Regions from separate parts of the Homo sapiens genome. Here regions 1, 2, 4 and 5 are each linked to region 3. Evidence: promoter capture Hi-C in 16 types of primary human blood cells and fetal thymus (Javierre and others, 2016). All regions are on one chromosome and are shown on one strand. The core of a region is centred on a gene start or on the middle of the fragment in contact, and the rest is flanking DNA. Distances in the headings are between cores, read along the strand shown.

Region 1 (2,700 bases), core at 25-2,524, 1.1 Mb before region 3:
CATGAATATGTGAGGGCTCAGGCATCTATTTCCTGAGCTGCTAGTGGATAGGATTATGGAGCGTGGACTAAGCTCTTGGGGGCTCTCGTTTGCCAGCCAAATTGATTTTCCGCCTCTCTGGCTGGGGACAAGCCCACCTCGAAGGCTTCCCAGGCTCTGCTCCAGTGGATCAGGCACAAGTCTAATCCGGATCTTGCCAACAAAGGAAGCTGTGTCCATCCGTGTCACAATGCAGGTTTCTTTGGGCTGTGGGTGCCTTCTCTAAATGCTCCTCTTTCCTCCTCTTCCTCACCTTCTCCTGGCTCCTGCTCCCAGAGCAGCACAGTGCAGTAAGGTACAGGGATATACTCCAACTCTGCCCAGATCACTCAGCCAGCTCTCCTTACCCAGGCAGAGCAGGATTTGTCCATCTTGAATGGATGATTCCTTTTCTCCAGGGAAAGGGAATTCCACAGGCTTCCTCGACTATCCATTTGACTATTTAATAATTGAAAGGTAAGAATATATAGGCTGCTAAATTTTTTAAGAAAAAATGGTGAATTGGGGGTTAATCAATGTAGGCAAGTAAATTAGTTTACATCTAAAAATTTAGATAGTTCAAGCTTTGAGTAAATGAATTATCTAGCTTGGTGATACAGATTAATCTAATGAATTGGGGTTCTCAGATCCCTCCCTGGTCTTGCCTCCATTTACCTCTCATTTTTCCTCTGTTTAAAAATAGAATCACTCTCCCTGGGTTTATTTTATCACCTGACATTCACATCCTAACTCTGTACATGCTGGCTGTGCACCTTTTCTCTCTTGATCTTCCTAAAAATGGCATTAAGGGTTTGACACACTCATCTACCTCTTTAACAGTTCTTAAGGCTCTTCGTTGAGCCTATGTCTACAACCTTATGATCCTTCTAACTCACCTAATTCTTTGATCTGCTCTCAAGAATCTTGTTTCTTATTCTAGCCTTTAAATGTTGATGGTTGACAGTTGTTTCCCTACCTTTACCCACCTTACCTTTCTTCTGTTCTTACTCTACATGTCCTCCCTGGGAGACCTCATTTACTTTGATAATTTCAACTCCTCGTTATTCAACAAGTATTGAGTGATCACTTAACACGTTCCCCATGTTCCAGGCACAGGGACTATGGCTGTGAACAAAACAGGCCAAAATCTTGCTCTCATGGTGTTTACTTCTAGAAGGAAAACAGTCAATAAACAAAATAAGAAAATTATAGTTTTTGTTAAATTTGCTTAGTACCATGGAGAAAAATGCAGCAGGAGAGGTGAATAGGGAATACACATTGGAGGTGGTAGTTGGGGATATTGGCACACAGCGATAGCAAATGTTGTGAGGCAAGGGAGCAAAAAGGAGTATTGGAACAAGGGGGAGAGCAGAGGCAGATGGGGCCAGAGAGAACCAACGCTGTAAGGTTTGATAGGCTTTGACTCTAAATATGATGGGAGCCATTGAAGAATTTTGGCAGAGAGGTAACACGATATGGTTCACATGAAAAGAAGGAATGACAACACTGAGTGTTGTTTTGAGAATTAACCCTGAGGTAGAGGATAAGGGCAGAAACAGGGAGCTAAGTTAAGATGCTGTTACAATAATCCATGGGTGAGATGAGAGTGACTTGGACCCCAGAAGTAGATGTGGAGGTGGTAAGTGGTTGGGTTATAGGGGACGTTTTGAAGGTGGAATGCATACAATTTCCTGAAGTATTGATTATGGAGTGAGAGACAGTGAAAGTTAACTCTGTGATTTTCAGACTTAGCAATTGCAAGGATGAAGTTACCATTCATGGAATGGGAAGGACTGAGGGAAGATCTGTGGGGCAAGACAAGGAAAGGAGTTCATGGATACTCATAGTTAAGAAACTATGAGACATCCAAGTAGAGATGTTGAGTAGGCAGTTGGGTATGTGAATCTTGAGCTGAGGGCACAAGCTTGGAGATATAAATTTGAGAGTCATTGACAATTAGCGTGCGATGGTGTTTAAAACCTTAAGACAAGATGGGACAACTGGCATGGTCTACAGAGACTGATAAGAAACGTGTTTAGAGGGCTGAGGCTTGGGACCCACCAAGTGTCAGTGGTTGGGATGATCAGGAGGAATCAGGCAGAAGAGGCTGAGAAGAGGATGCCTAAGAAGTAAGAGGAAAACCAGCTGGGTTTGTACCCAACCTACTTAATTAGAAAAGTCCCATGTGCTCACTGTCATTGAGTCAATAGGGAGCTTTCTTAGTATTTGCTAAAAATGAAGACATGAAATTAGATACCAGGTGAAGGAAAGACAAAGGTTCTAAATAGAAGAGTTTATTCTTCTGTTCTTTTATGAGTTACTAGCACTTTTGCATTTTATGAGGTTTTCTTTAGCGATTCAATACAATGTATAGAATATAGCACATGATGAAAATTTGATAGAAGTATAGAAACATTGGATTTTTTAAATAGAGATGAGAAAATGAAAGAAAGAAAAACAAAGAGGCTGGGCAAGTGAGGAGAGGGAGTTTTAGGAAAGAAGTGACCAAGTTGTCAAATGCTGCTGGTCACTCGGGAAGGGTGAGGACTGAGCATTGAGCCTGAGATTCACCAATGTGGTTGCCATCTGTGGCCTTGAGAGGAGCAGTTTTGCAGGTTCATCAGGTAAAGGCCTGACCAGGGAGGGTTCAAAAGACAGTCATGAAAAAGAGTTGAAGATAGT
Region 2 (2,700 bases), core at 59-2,558, 1.0 Mb before region 3:
CAGTAAAAGATGAGAGTGACATCAACAAGCACAAATACTCAGAAGATGTTTGCAACACAATTTGAGGTTAGGTATTGTGGTGTGTCTGGCTTAGGAGATGGATAATTACAGAGGATTTATTTCACAACTGTTCCAAATCAAGAGCATTTAGAGCTCTGTGCAATGCTTGTCTTTAATACACAGATATGGACCCTCAGGAAAAGTAAGCTAATGGTAAACAAAAACCAGGGAGTTAATATCTGCTCTCATTGGTATTATTGATTGCCTAACAAATCCTTTGTGGGATTCAACAGTTCTTTACAGTACATGGGCACTAAGTTACATAACTCTTTAAGTAACTAGTATGGTAAATTGGTACTTTGACCAGGAAGTTTTACCAAGTGATAGTGTTATATTTCTAATGGAACATTTCCCTGAATTAAAAACAGGTTTGGGCCAGGCATGGTGGCTCACGCCTGTAATCTCAGCACTTTGGGAGGCTGAGGCGGGTGGATCACCTGAGGTCAGGAGTTCGAGACCAGCCTGGCCAACATGGTGAAACCCCATCTGTACTAAAAATATAAAAAATTAGCTGGGTGTGGTGGTGGGTGCCTGTAATCCCAGCTACTCAGGAGTCTGAGGCAGGAGAATTGCTTGAACCTGAGAGGCAGAGGTTGCAGTGAGCCGAGATCATGCCACTGTGCTCCAGCCTGGGCAACAAGAGTGAAACTCCATCTCAAATAATAATAATAATAAAATAAAAAATAAAATAAAAAAGAACAAACATTAAGACAGCCCACAGAAAAGAAAAACAACATGTAAGGCTTATAGCCCTTTTGTCTTTTTGATCATAGACAGGAGGAGCTGTTGCTGATGCAGAGGTAAGGGTTAACATTTAAAATGGACTGGTTGCCTCCTGATTTCTTGCACATAAAGCCATGAGAAGTTCAGGGAGAGACTTCTTCCCCTAGTAATGAAGCTCTCTACTGCTAATGGCCCATGCAGACTCCCTTGGCTCCTCCAAATTAGAAATACTTTTGTGCTCCTTTGCTTCATTAACAGTAAAGAGTGGGAGATTGGTGGCTATTTAGGGCATGGGGAAATTGGTGGCTATTTAGGGCAAGTGAAAATTGTAGTAATTATTGTTGGTAAGTTCTCTTCATGGTGTTTTTTGGACTCTTGATGTTCTTTTGGTGCTTTTCAGAAGACCCCTCCATGGTCAATTCTGGCATTTGGCCTAGGAGGACAGGAGATGACCTGACTGAATTTTTGGCCCCTGGTGATGGTCAGTACAAGCCATCTTGCCTGATGGGAGATGGGTCTTTTGCTTTTTGAGTTGCTTTTCAGAGTGGAAAGCATATCTGAATGCTTACCATATGACCCTCTCTCCTATCAGCTGTGATAAAAGTGTAGTATATATGATAACCTCCTTCTCTACCTGTATTGCACTACAGAAAGCTGGTGCTGCACATGAGTGCCTATGAAATTGCATCCCTAATAAACCTTGGTTGAGATGGGTGAGGGGAGCTTGATAGACTCAAGGCTCTGAGAGAATGAGCAGTGCATGAAGGAGAAATAAGAAAGTAATTTAGGATCACAGTGTGCTATGGTATGTCTCTGGTTGGCCAAGGAGTTTGCATCAGATTATTGGATTCTGACTAGAAGGAGAAGAACCTCAAAAGGAAGGTGCAATGTTTCCAAAGACAAATAGAACCAAATTATTGCTAGCATTTAGCAGTTTGACACTATTTGAAGAGGGACCACATTTGTATGGGCCTTCAGAAACTGGGGAGATTATCTGAAAAATGCTTCCTTCAATAATTGAAATTGTAATCTACAGAAACTGAGTCAGGGGAAATAACATCCTAAAAATTGGTCTGTAAATGTGGTGTTAATTGAAATTTGACGAGCAATTAAGTCCAGTTAAGGTGACCAGGGGAATTCTTGGGACCACATTGCTGGAATTAAAAAATATTTCTGGAAATATCTACCCAATTGATTATACTATCACATATTGAGGTAATTTTTTTTTTTTTTTTTTGGGACGGAATCTCGCTCTGTTGCCCAGGCTGGAGTGCAGTGGCGCGATTTCTGCTCACTACAGGCTCTGCCTCCCAGGTTCACGCCATTCTCCTGCCTCAGCCTCCCGAGTAGCTGGGACTACAGGCGCATGCTGCCACGCCCAGCTAATTTTTTGTATTTTTAGTACAGACGGGGTTTCACCGTGTTAGCCAGGATGGTCTCGATCTCCTGATCTCATGATCCACCCGCCTCGGCGTCCCAAAGTGCTGGGATTACAGGCATAAGCCACCGCTCCCGGCCGAGGTAATTTTTTTTAATGATCAACGTGGTATGCATGAGAAGATAGGTGAGGCAGGAGGAATTAAATGTGAACAGATGGATGCTTTTGAACAGAGATCTTCTTTTGGTTTGTAGTTAAAACTATTTTTAAAAAGTGGTTTAATTGACAGCACTTGACTAGGATTGCAGAAATATGAGTTTTCAAGGAAATCATAGCATTTTCCTAGACCAGAGACCATTATTAGTGCACATTGCTTGTGTGTGCCTAGGAGAGGTTTTCTGACCACTGACTATGTTTGTCCTCTTGGCAAATATCCTACTGATATGGGGTTGATTGTATCAAGCTCTAATAACTTAGGATCACCCAACTGCTGATTTCTTTTGAAAATAAGTTTGCAGGAAATCTCTTGACCCTCATGT
Region 3 (2,700 bases), core at 30-2,529:
CTTCTCTTCCTTCCTTTTCTCTCCAACTTTTCCTCTTAGCAATCTCCATGGCCCGCTTCGCCCGCCTCGACTTCCCTCCTTTTCTAAATCCGCTTCGCCTTTCCGAAGTTTTTATTTCCAACCTCGACGTCTCAGCAGAACCTTCCCTTCCTCCCTTCCCCTGGCAACCACCTGGGGCTGTCCCAGACCATTCCGCTTAAAAGCGAGGCTCCGCGGGCTTCCCGGTCCCCAGCCTGGCCCGCCGCGCGCCCCGCGCCTCGCCCGCCTCGGCCGCCTCTCCCACCTCGCCCGCCTCTCCCACCTCGCCCGCCTCGGCCGCCTCGTCCGCCTAGTCCGCCTCGCCCGCGAGTAGCGGAGCCGTCTGGCCGCGTCAGCCCTCGCCCGAGCCGGAAAAGGGCTTTGGCGAGCGCGGTCCGGGCCCCGGAGGCGGCTGGCGTCCTCCTGGCTGGGCGCAACTTCTCCTGCCCCGAAGAGTTGAGCTAGCCTCAGTGCTAGAGACCCGTACGCATTGAACGTGGGCAGAAATTTCCGTGAAAGATGCCCACACAGGAGGCGGCTGCGATTTCTGTTCGGACGCAGTGACCCTCAAGGAAGCAAAACACAAGAAAACAGAAACTAATAAACTGCTACGACTTCTATTTTGCTCTATCCATCCATATCTCCAGCCATCTACTTCTTTCCCGCTAATTCTCTGTCCTCTACTTGGAACCATTTGTTATCAATTTCAGAAATTTTATTGAAAATAAAAATTAAAAGCCCGAGTCTGTTACAAATGAGGCTTGAAAACCCAATTCTCTTCCACACTTAAAACGAGAAAAGCCCCTGACTTTATCAGAATCTCGATTTTCTCTGAGAGCGTGCCCACATTCAGTAGCACCACATTCCCCATCAGAGCTTAAAAGGGTGGGGTGGGGTGGGGGGAGGCGAGGAAAAGGGAAAGAAAAATAAAATAAATAAAAACATTCCTAAATTAAAGTTGTCAGATTTCAGCCTTAAAGTCCCTTTTCAGAGCAGCGAAGTCTTCCCTAGCCAGCTTTTCTAAAAGTTAAAAAAAGCTGAGAAAACCGACCGGAAATCTACGAGTAAATAGCTTAAAAATATATATCATTTGGGGTATCAAGAAGCTCAAATTCTCTATCTGCAAAGCTCTAAGGTGCATCTGGGGGTGTCGACTCACCTCATAGATATCTTCGTACTTGACATTCTCCACAAGCTTCCAGAGCATGATGGCAGCCTGGTCTCTAGGAGGTGAGTGCATTCATGTGAGGAGCAGATGTCTGGCTTCTCAGGACTCCGCTGTCTGTAATGATCCATCTATAATTGGAAATGGGGGATACACACCAAATCCGACGCTCCTCTCCCATCGCAACTTATATCTGTTGTCTCAAACAATAGGCTGGACAAGTAAGCCTCAGCAAAGAGAAAAAACATTATTGCACACACAGGAGTTAGATGCAACCCACAGACATATATACTATAAAAATCATAAACCCGTATTTACACCCAGACACCCACATATAGTTATATAAGCACCTCTGGGTCACACAGTCTGCAGACTCCAAATGTGCATTTAACAAAGAGTTGTTCAGGGTGATTAATATAATATATACATTTTATAACTTCTATATCGAAAATGACACATCATTGTAGCCACTAACTGAAGTCTTTGCAATTCATAATGAGAAACCAGGGGCCATCAGTCCCCTATTTTCTATGTAGATTTTAAAGGGGGACACTTACCAAGATTTTTAAACACAAAAGCTCCCTCCTATTCATGTATGTTCCGGAAGAGAGTATTTTGAAAGGCTGGATATGGGGGATTTTAAGGACTATCTCTGTGTTGATGGCTACACAACTTTTTTTTTTTTAACTTTATCTCTGTCACCATAGAACAAAAAAGCTAGCCACCGTTGATGACCATTTCTAATATTTTCTGGTCATTTTACCTAAAACCTTTGGAAACTTAAATACACCTCAGTTTGTGCTGCTTGTTATTTTAGGTGTTGTTTGTATGCATTTTCAACGGATTCCATGCACCATTCCTCTTGGCTGGAGTCTCCATTTTATCAAGTTTTTTTCAGATGTTGGAAGCAACGTACGCACACGTTCAGACAAGGTTAATTTTGAGCCTTTTTTGCAGAGGCCAAGGACATTTTATATTTGCATCTGTTGTGTATGACTTGTAAGTGGTTTTAATCATGGAGAGTCAAGAAAGGGCCACCCGAATCTTTGAAAAGGTTTAAGCAGAATGTCTTCAAAGAGATAGTGAAAAATATTTTAGTGCATGTGGAGTTTCTTCTTTTTTTTGTATAATTTTTCTTAATAAGATGATTCATATAGTTTTTAAAAAGGAAAACATCATCAGCAACAAGAACAATATTAACCAGACTTAGAAAATGGGCACCATTTAAGGCGCAGGGATTCTGAATTTTATCATGAAATGAATACTCATCTGTTCCCCTGTTCCCCCTTTCCCATCCCCTCTGTTTTTCTACTCCCTTTCAGGGTGCGGAGAGCTTCTCATAGCCGGAACAGACGCCCAGAAGAGGATCTCTGCGCCTGGGACAGAAAAGAAATGCCAGGAGGGACCGAGGAGGGATGGGGCAATTTGGGGTGGAAGTTATTAAGCCTGGTGAGAGTGAATCTGCAAAGGGTGATTGTCTTTAAATCCAGGACTGCTGTGTGCAGCTCTGCGCGAAC
Region 4 (2,700 bases), core at 178-2,677, 1.0 Mb before region 3:
TATCTGCCTCTAAGAACAAGCGCACACTGTTAAGAAATTCCAAATTTAGGCCCAGGCACAAGGAAAGCCTTTCTTATGGGCTTGGCTGTATGGAGCCTCTCTAACGATCCTCTCGGCATCCCAGCCGCCACCCTTCAATCAAAAATCATTAAATGGGGCAGAGATAATGAGCATGTAGCATATCAAAAGAAGGATGTTTGCTTGGTCCAAAGGAGGAAAAGCTGCTTGGCCCCACGCTCAGCTCCACTTCAAAGGGAGATGAGACCTCTCAACACTGGGGCCTGATAATGCCTCATTTGTTCTTGGCTTGACTTATGCAAAAGGTCTGGTATGTCAGAGTCCAGTCTCACAGACGTGGGTTTCCCCCACCTCTTGCCTCCACCTCCACCAGCCCCCTCCCTGGCCTTCTGCACACTCCTGTGTCAGCACTTAGGCAGCTGGGTCCCCCAAAGCATCAGAGGGAGCGTATAATCACTGACTTTCCACTCACAATGGCCACTTGTAGGGGGGTGGCCAGGAGGAGGTCTTCATCACAATAGGAACACAATTATTGCAGCTGCTAGGGAGGGCTATGCTTCTTCCTGTAGAAATAGAATAGGACTTGCCCAAAACAGGAGGAGAAGATTGGAGGGAGGCGGGGGGAGGTTGAGAAGGGTGGAGAAAACAATCTTGAGTTGATTATTCATAATCTGACTCTTGGAAGCCCGATGCAGAGTCAGTGGGGTTCCAGCAGCTGCTCGCACACAGCCTTCTTCTAATAATTGTACATTCTGTCAGGGGTCAACTTACTTTTGACCCTGTCCTTTTATATTGGTAAAAGGCTCTTTAGGGCAAACTGTTGGGTTGTGGCAGGGTGCATTAAACACAGCCCCTTCCCCTAGCTTGATCCCCCTCCCGACCAGCAGCCGGTGATAAATTCATATCAGATGCTGTGCCATTCACAGTTGCCCTCCCGAGTTCACACAGCCCCCACTCATGGAGCAGAGATGCAGCCGAGCTGGGACATTGTGTGAGGCGGCAGCTGAGAAGGTCTGCCTGTAAGGCTGAGGCTCCTGCTGCACCACCACCTTCTGATCTGACTGAGAAAAAAAGGACATGTCTAGCCAGGCTGGCCAACACTTGTGTCCAAATGTCCGCCTCACCACGAATAAAGGGCAAGAGGGCTGTGCATGGAAAGGCAGATGGACTTTATTGTGTGTGCCAAGTTGCCTAGAAGAACTCAGGTCTGTCTCATCACAAAGATGGGTCAGAAAAGATGCTGTTAATTTGGGAGAGCCTAAAAAATCAGGAGTGCTTTCCTGGGTTGGAGCCTAGGCTCCTGATCCTGTCTACCACTGCCCAGGTTTCCTTTCCTCAATGCAACAAGGGCCCTGGAGCCAAGCAGGCTGCTTGCATAAATCTTCTCTTCTTCAGCTGGCCTAGAAGACTGCCTGCAAATCCTGGAAAATAATTCCTTTAGGATCTAAGGAGGAGAGTGGCGTCAGCTGGCTCCTGTGACCTCTTGGGGAAGATTTTGTAGGCAGAGCGGAATCAGAATCTTTTTGCAACTCTGCAGCCATTCCCATGCTGAGCCCCTCTAAGGCAATCCACAGCATTCTAGTTAATAAATTAATTTACATTCTTATGAAAAACTCATTCCCAAAGATCCCCAAGGATTTTTACCAGTATGTAGAGAATTGACTTCAGGGAACTGCACTAACCTTTATGGCAAAAATATAGATAACAGAACAGAGGCTGGGGATGTGAAAAGGGATTTTGCCTCTTGGTTGGAAACAACTCCAAAAGGAAAAGGCAGGAAGAGAAGGAGAAAAGGAAGGAAAGGAGAGGAGAGGAGAGAAGAGGAGAGGAGGAGAAAGGAAAGGGAAGGAAACTTAGAATCAAATACATCTTTTAGGAATCACTCAGGTTAAGGAGTTAATGCTCCGCAATGCTGAGTTGCTAGCCTTAATTCACACAGGTCATAGGTGGTGCAACCAGTATTCAAATAGCTTTTCTGACTCTAGGTTCAGTGCTTTTTCTAGTATACCATCTTTTCTTTTTTTAAATCTGAGCTTATATACCTAACCTTTTAAACCAACTCTTCTTCTTTCAATTTATAAGAAAAAACAATACTTAGTTAACACTGTGCTTCCTGAACTTTAGATATTTTAGTACCATTTTCATAATTGTGTCATATCCTTATACCTCTTGTCTGATTATTTACTTAATATTTTTCTTAAATCAATTTCTACACTGTCTTATTTTTAAAACCTAACTTTTCTTAATAATATCCATGAAATCATGGGTTTAATGGGTTAGTTGTTTTTTTCTAAAATACTTTACAATGTATAGATACTAAAATGAAACTTTTTATGCCTCTAAAGTAACCATTGTGCATTTAACATCTTGGGAATATGATTTGGTCTGTAAGGGTTTGGTATAATTGATAAAAAGTACGAATTGTGAAGTAAGGATCTTTTCCATCTGGGTCTCGCTCTTTACTTGGTAAGAACACCTGCTCCTGAGAACAAACAATATTTTAAGAGTGTAGTATGAGAAAATTTGTTTAGTTCCTTACATTTGTGTTTTTTTGCCTCCTGTGTAAACAGCTGAAATGCTTATTCCCAGGACCCTCCTGAGAGATTCAGGCTGTGTAGGTCTGTGGCAGGGTCTGGGAAATCACAAATACCTCCACAGAAGTATGAAAAACATTGCTCTGAG
Region 5 (2,700 bases), core at 27-2,526, 1.1 Mb before region 3:
TCTGGGGTTTGGGTAGCTGTAGTCAATAAGGAAATTTCACTCTTGCCTTTTGCTTTCATCACTCTGTCTGCCAATCCAGGTTCACCACTCCAAACTGAGTGCCAATCACTTGTCACTTTTCAAGTGGGTTGCTGTCAGCCTGGGCAACTTAAATTTTTGACAACGTAATTACGGCTCTTGCTTCCACAGTGGGAATCTGAGCAGGATGGTGGAGCTTTTATTGATTGTTCAGCAGGGAAATTTATCAATGTCTCTCACTTCATTTCCAGTTTCTCCCTGAGAAATTTGGCTGACAGTTTCTTAGGAGAAAAACAGTCTCATGGCCTTGGCTGGACTTCTGTCTTTGTCCTTTTCAAGAAATTACAAGATATAGGCATTAAATATACATGGAAATTCCTGAGAAAAAGCAGTATGTGGGGCATGATTGAAGAAAGCACGAGTGCAATTGCAAGGAACATAAGAATTTGGTAGGAATAAATAAAAGCAGTGGTCTAAATAAGCAAGCTTAGATATGGTTTGTTTTCCTTCTGAAAATGCCAAGTGTCTGCATGTAAATTCCATGGTTGCTATGAGTACTGTGTAATATGCACTATTTTCATAGTTGCTAGAGTATCAGGCTGTCTTTAAGCATGGTATAAAGTGTGTGGAACAGGCACATGTGTGGGAGTGTGTTTCCGGTCAGTGGTTTTCACATTGTGCTCCACAAAATCCAAATGTTTCCTGGAGGGGATTTAGGGGTTCCCTAAACAATGAATATTGGAGGTCAAGTAATAAAGGTTTAAATTGCTCAAGTAATTGATTTATTGCTTTTATCTGTTATATATTTGTGTTCAAAGTAACAGTTTGTTAGAAGAAAGAGTTCCACTGTTAAAACTGTGATTAAAAAACTCTACTAGGTCATTCTTTTAGCTGTGGTGTATGGATCCTTTTGAGGTGTCCAGGGCCTCTCTGCATGATTCCTGTTTCCCCAAGACTGATTTAGCTCTGGGACATTTTCTATAAAGTCTGTTCTTTGATGTAGGGTGAAACTTTCTAGAGCCCATTTTCATGTCATAACAGTTCCTCTTATCCAACAATATATTTTTAAATCTCCACTCTCTCGTCACCTGATTAATAGTCTCCAATGCTGTCTCCTCTTGCCCCTTTCCTTACCTATTTCTTCTAGACCAAGACTCCTCCCTTTTCTTCTGTCTCTCGTTCCCTTGAGCTAGATACAAACCAGAGCTATGACATGGCATTTTTATATGTAGCTTTATTACTCTGAAATTGTTTGGTTTTAGGGGACAGAAGCCCACTGGAAACAAACTTAGAACCAAGGATTTATGAATTCTTGTAATCAAAACGCAGGATGGAGAGAAAGACAATGGCCTTAGACGTGACTGTCTTCAAGGGTCCGAATGTCCACAGGACTCACCCCTCAGTCCCTTACCCTGGCTGTCTCTGCATGTATTGACTTCACTCTCTCCTACTCCTTATTGCTGCCTTCTCTATGGTTATTGGGACTTCCTGATTTCATGTGGACTTTGATTTTCTACTACCAAAGAAAGGAACACTGTATTCTTTTCAAAAAATAACCAGGGGAGGCCTCCCAAAGTCCGCTAGAGTTACTTAGCAGACTAAGGACTATACATGGTGCCCAGGGGGAAAGTGCACTCTGACTGTCCAAGCTCAAGCCACATTTTCACTTCTGCTTTCCCCTTGCATTTATCACCACAAAATATTACCTGTGATTTCATGGGAAACTTGAGCTGATGTGGTGTGTAAATTTGCCACAGGCCTGAGCAAATGCAACCGACACAATTTTAGGGATGTTTGGTAGATGCAAACCTTTCAGACAGAAGTCTGACTCAGAATAGATTTTATTTTTCTTTAGTCACTACCTTCGTCTGTATTCTGATGGATCCTTTTTCTTGTCCTTTAAAAACACCTTGGTTACCAATAGCTTTCCAGTTGATTTCAGATATTGAAAATGCCAGTCCTGATTAATCTAGTTTAAAAACTCAGTCTCCTATTCATTTAATGTTACCTTCCTCACCCACAAAGCTTCAACTTGAGGCACTTGGGATGGTAGGGTCTGCTCCCTCACTCTTCCTCTAATCCTTCTTATTTCATATTGTCAGTATGGGGCAGGTGGAAGAGGTAAGGTGAGAGGTTTAACAAGCTTAATACTTAACGGTGCACCTATATCCTCTGTTGGGTGTTGCTCTCTCTCTGAATAATAATTGCTGACTATTGAGTCTCCCTCCTAAGATGCCTGCATGAAATCACTGGAGTCTTGTAGGAGGCTTTTCCACTGCACAGTTTCTCAATGTGGAAGCCCCACTTGGGTTTTCAATCCGTTAGCATCCACCTTGGGGGTTGGTCTTGGTGGAGTACTAGAAAGTTGGTTCAAGCCAAGCTATCTTCCCTACAATTCAGCTATCCAGAGGAAACTTACAAATCCACATGAAAGATGTTTCACTTATCACCCCTTTCTCTGCTCTGCTCTTTCTCTAATTGTTTCCCCTGCTTAGATAAGCATGAGCAGCTGAGCAAATAGGCTGCATATGCAGACATTCCACCTGGGAAAAGAAGCCAGTCTCCCCTTCTTACAGGTCACTCTGTGATTGATACTTATGCAGCCCTCTTTCTTTGCTTAATAAGAGAGAAGTAGTTTCACACCTCGCTCTATAGGAAGGGGAGGAAAGGCCAGGGTTAGCT

What was found. The method cuts DNA at HindIII sites, captures the fragments that hold promoters and counts their contacts. A CHiCAGO score of 5 or more calls a contact.
Region 1: a fragment that was not itself captured here is called in contact with the fragment with the promoter of TFAP2B in region 3 in 7 of 17 cell types (monocytes, endothelial precursors, M2 macrophages and 4 more); the score reaches 10.0 in monocytes.
Region 2: a fragment that was not itself captured here is called in contact with the fragment with the promoter of TFAP2B in region 3 in 5 of 17 cell types (M2 macrophages, monocytes, M0 macrophages and 2 more); the score reaches 8.2 in M2 macrophages.
Region 4: a fragment that was not itself captured here is called in contact with the fragment with the promoter of TFAP2B in region 3 in 3 of 17 cell types (neutrophils, endothelial precursors and M0 macrophages); the score reaches 6.0 in neutrophils.
Region 5: a contact is called between a fragment that was not itself captured here and the fragment with the promoter of TFAP2B in region 3, in 2 of 17 cell types (M0 macrophages and monocytes). The highest score is 5.7, in M0 macrophages.

Annotation. Positions count from the first base shown.
Region 1 is chr6:51,947,045-51,949,744 of GRCh38, reverse strand. The region is part of intron 36 of PKHD1 (PKHD1 ciliary IPT domain containing fibrocystin/polyductin); the gene reads left to right. Among named protein-coding and RNA genes, the nearest start is that of PKHD1, 140 kb to the left of the region's middle. The HindIII fragment of the contact is 1,340 bases long and covers 605-1,944 here.
Region 2 is chr6:51,858,846-51,861,545 of GRCh38, reverse strand. All of the region lies in intron 48 of PKHD1 (PKHD1 ciliary IPT domain containing fibrocystin/polyductin), which reads left to right. Among named protein-coding and RNA genes, the nearest start is that of PKHD1, 230 kb to the left of the region's middle. The HindIII fragment of the contact is 3,672 bases long and covers 1-2,700 here.
Region 3 is chr6:50,817,450-50,820,149 of GRCh38, reverse strand. TFAP2B (transcription factor AP-2 beta) reads right to left here and starts at 1,279. Exons shown (of 7, transcript NM_003221.4): 1 at 1,178-1,279. The coding sequence starts at 1,258. LOC124901490 (a long non-coding RNA gene) reads left to right here and starts at 1,124. Exons shown (of 2, transcript XR_007059923.1): 1 at 1,124-1,248; 2 at 2,506-2,700. The HindIII fragment of the contact is 1,562 bases long and covers 1,216-2,700 here.
Region 4 is chr6:51,840,532-51,843,231 of GRCh38, reverse strand. The region is part of intron 50 of PKHD1 (PKHD1 ciliary IPT domain containing fibrocystin/polyductin); the gene reads left to right. Among named protein-coding and RNA genes, the nearest start is that of PKHD1, 250 kb to the left of the region's middle. The HindIII fragment of the contact is 3,172 bases long and covers 1-2,700 here.
Region 5 is chr6:51,927,525-51,930,224 of GRCh38, reverse strand. All of the region lies in intron 37 of PKHD1 (PKHD1 ciliary IPT domain containing fibrocystin/polyductin), which reads left to right. Among named protein-coding and RNA genes, the nearest start is that of PKHD1, 160 kb to the left of the region's middle. The HindIII fragment of the contact is 1,539 bases long and covers 507-2,045 here.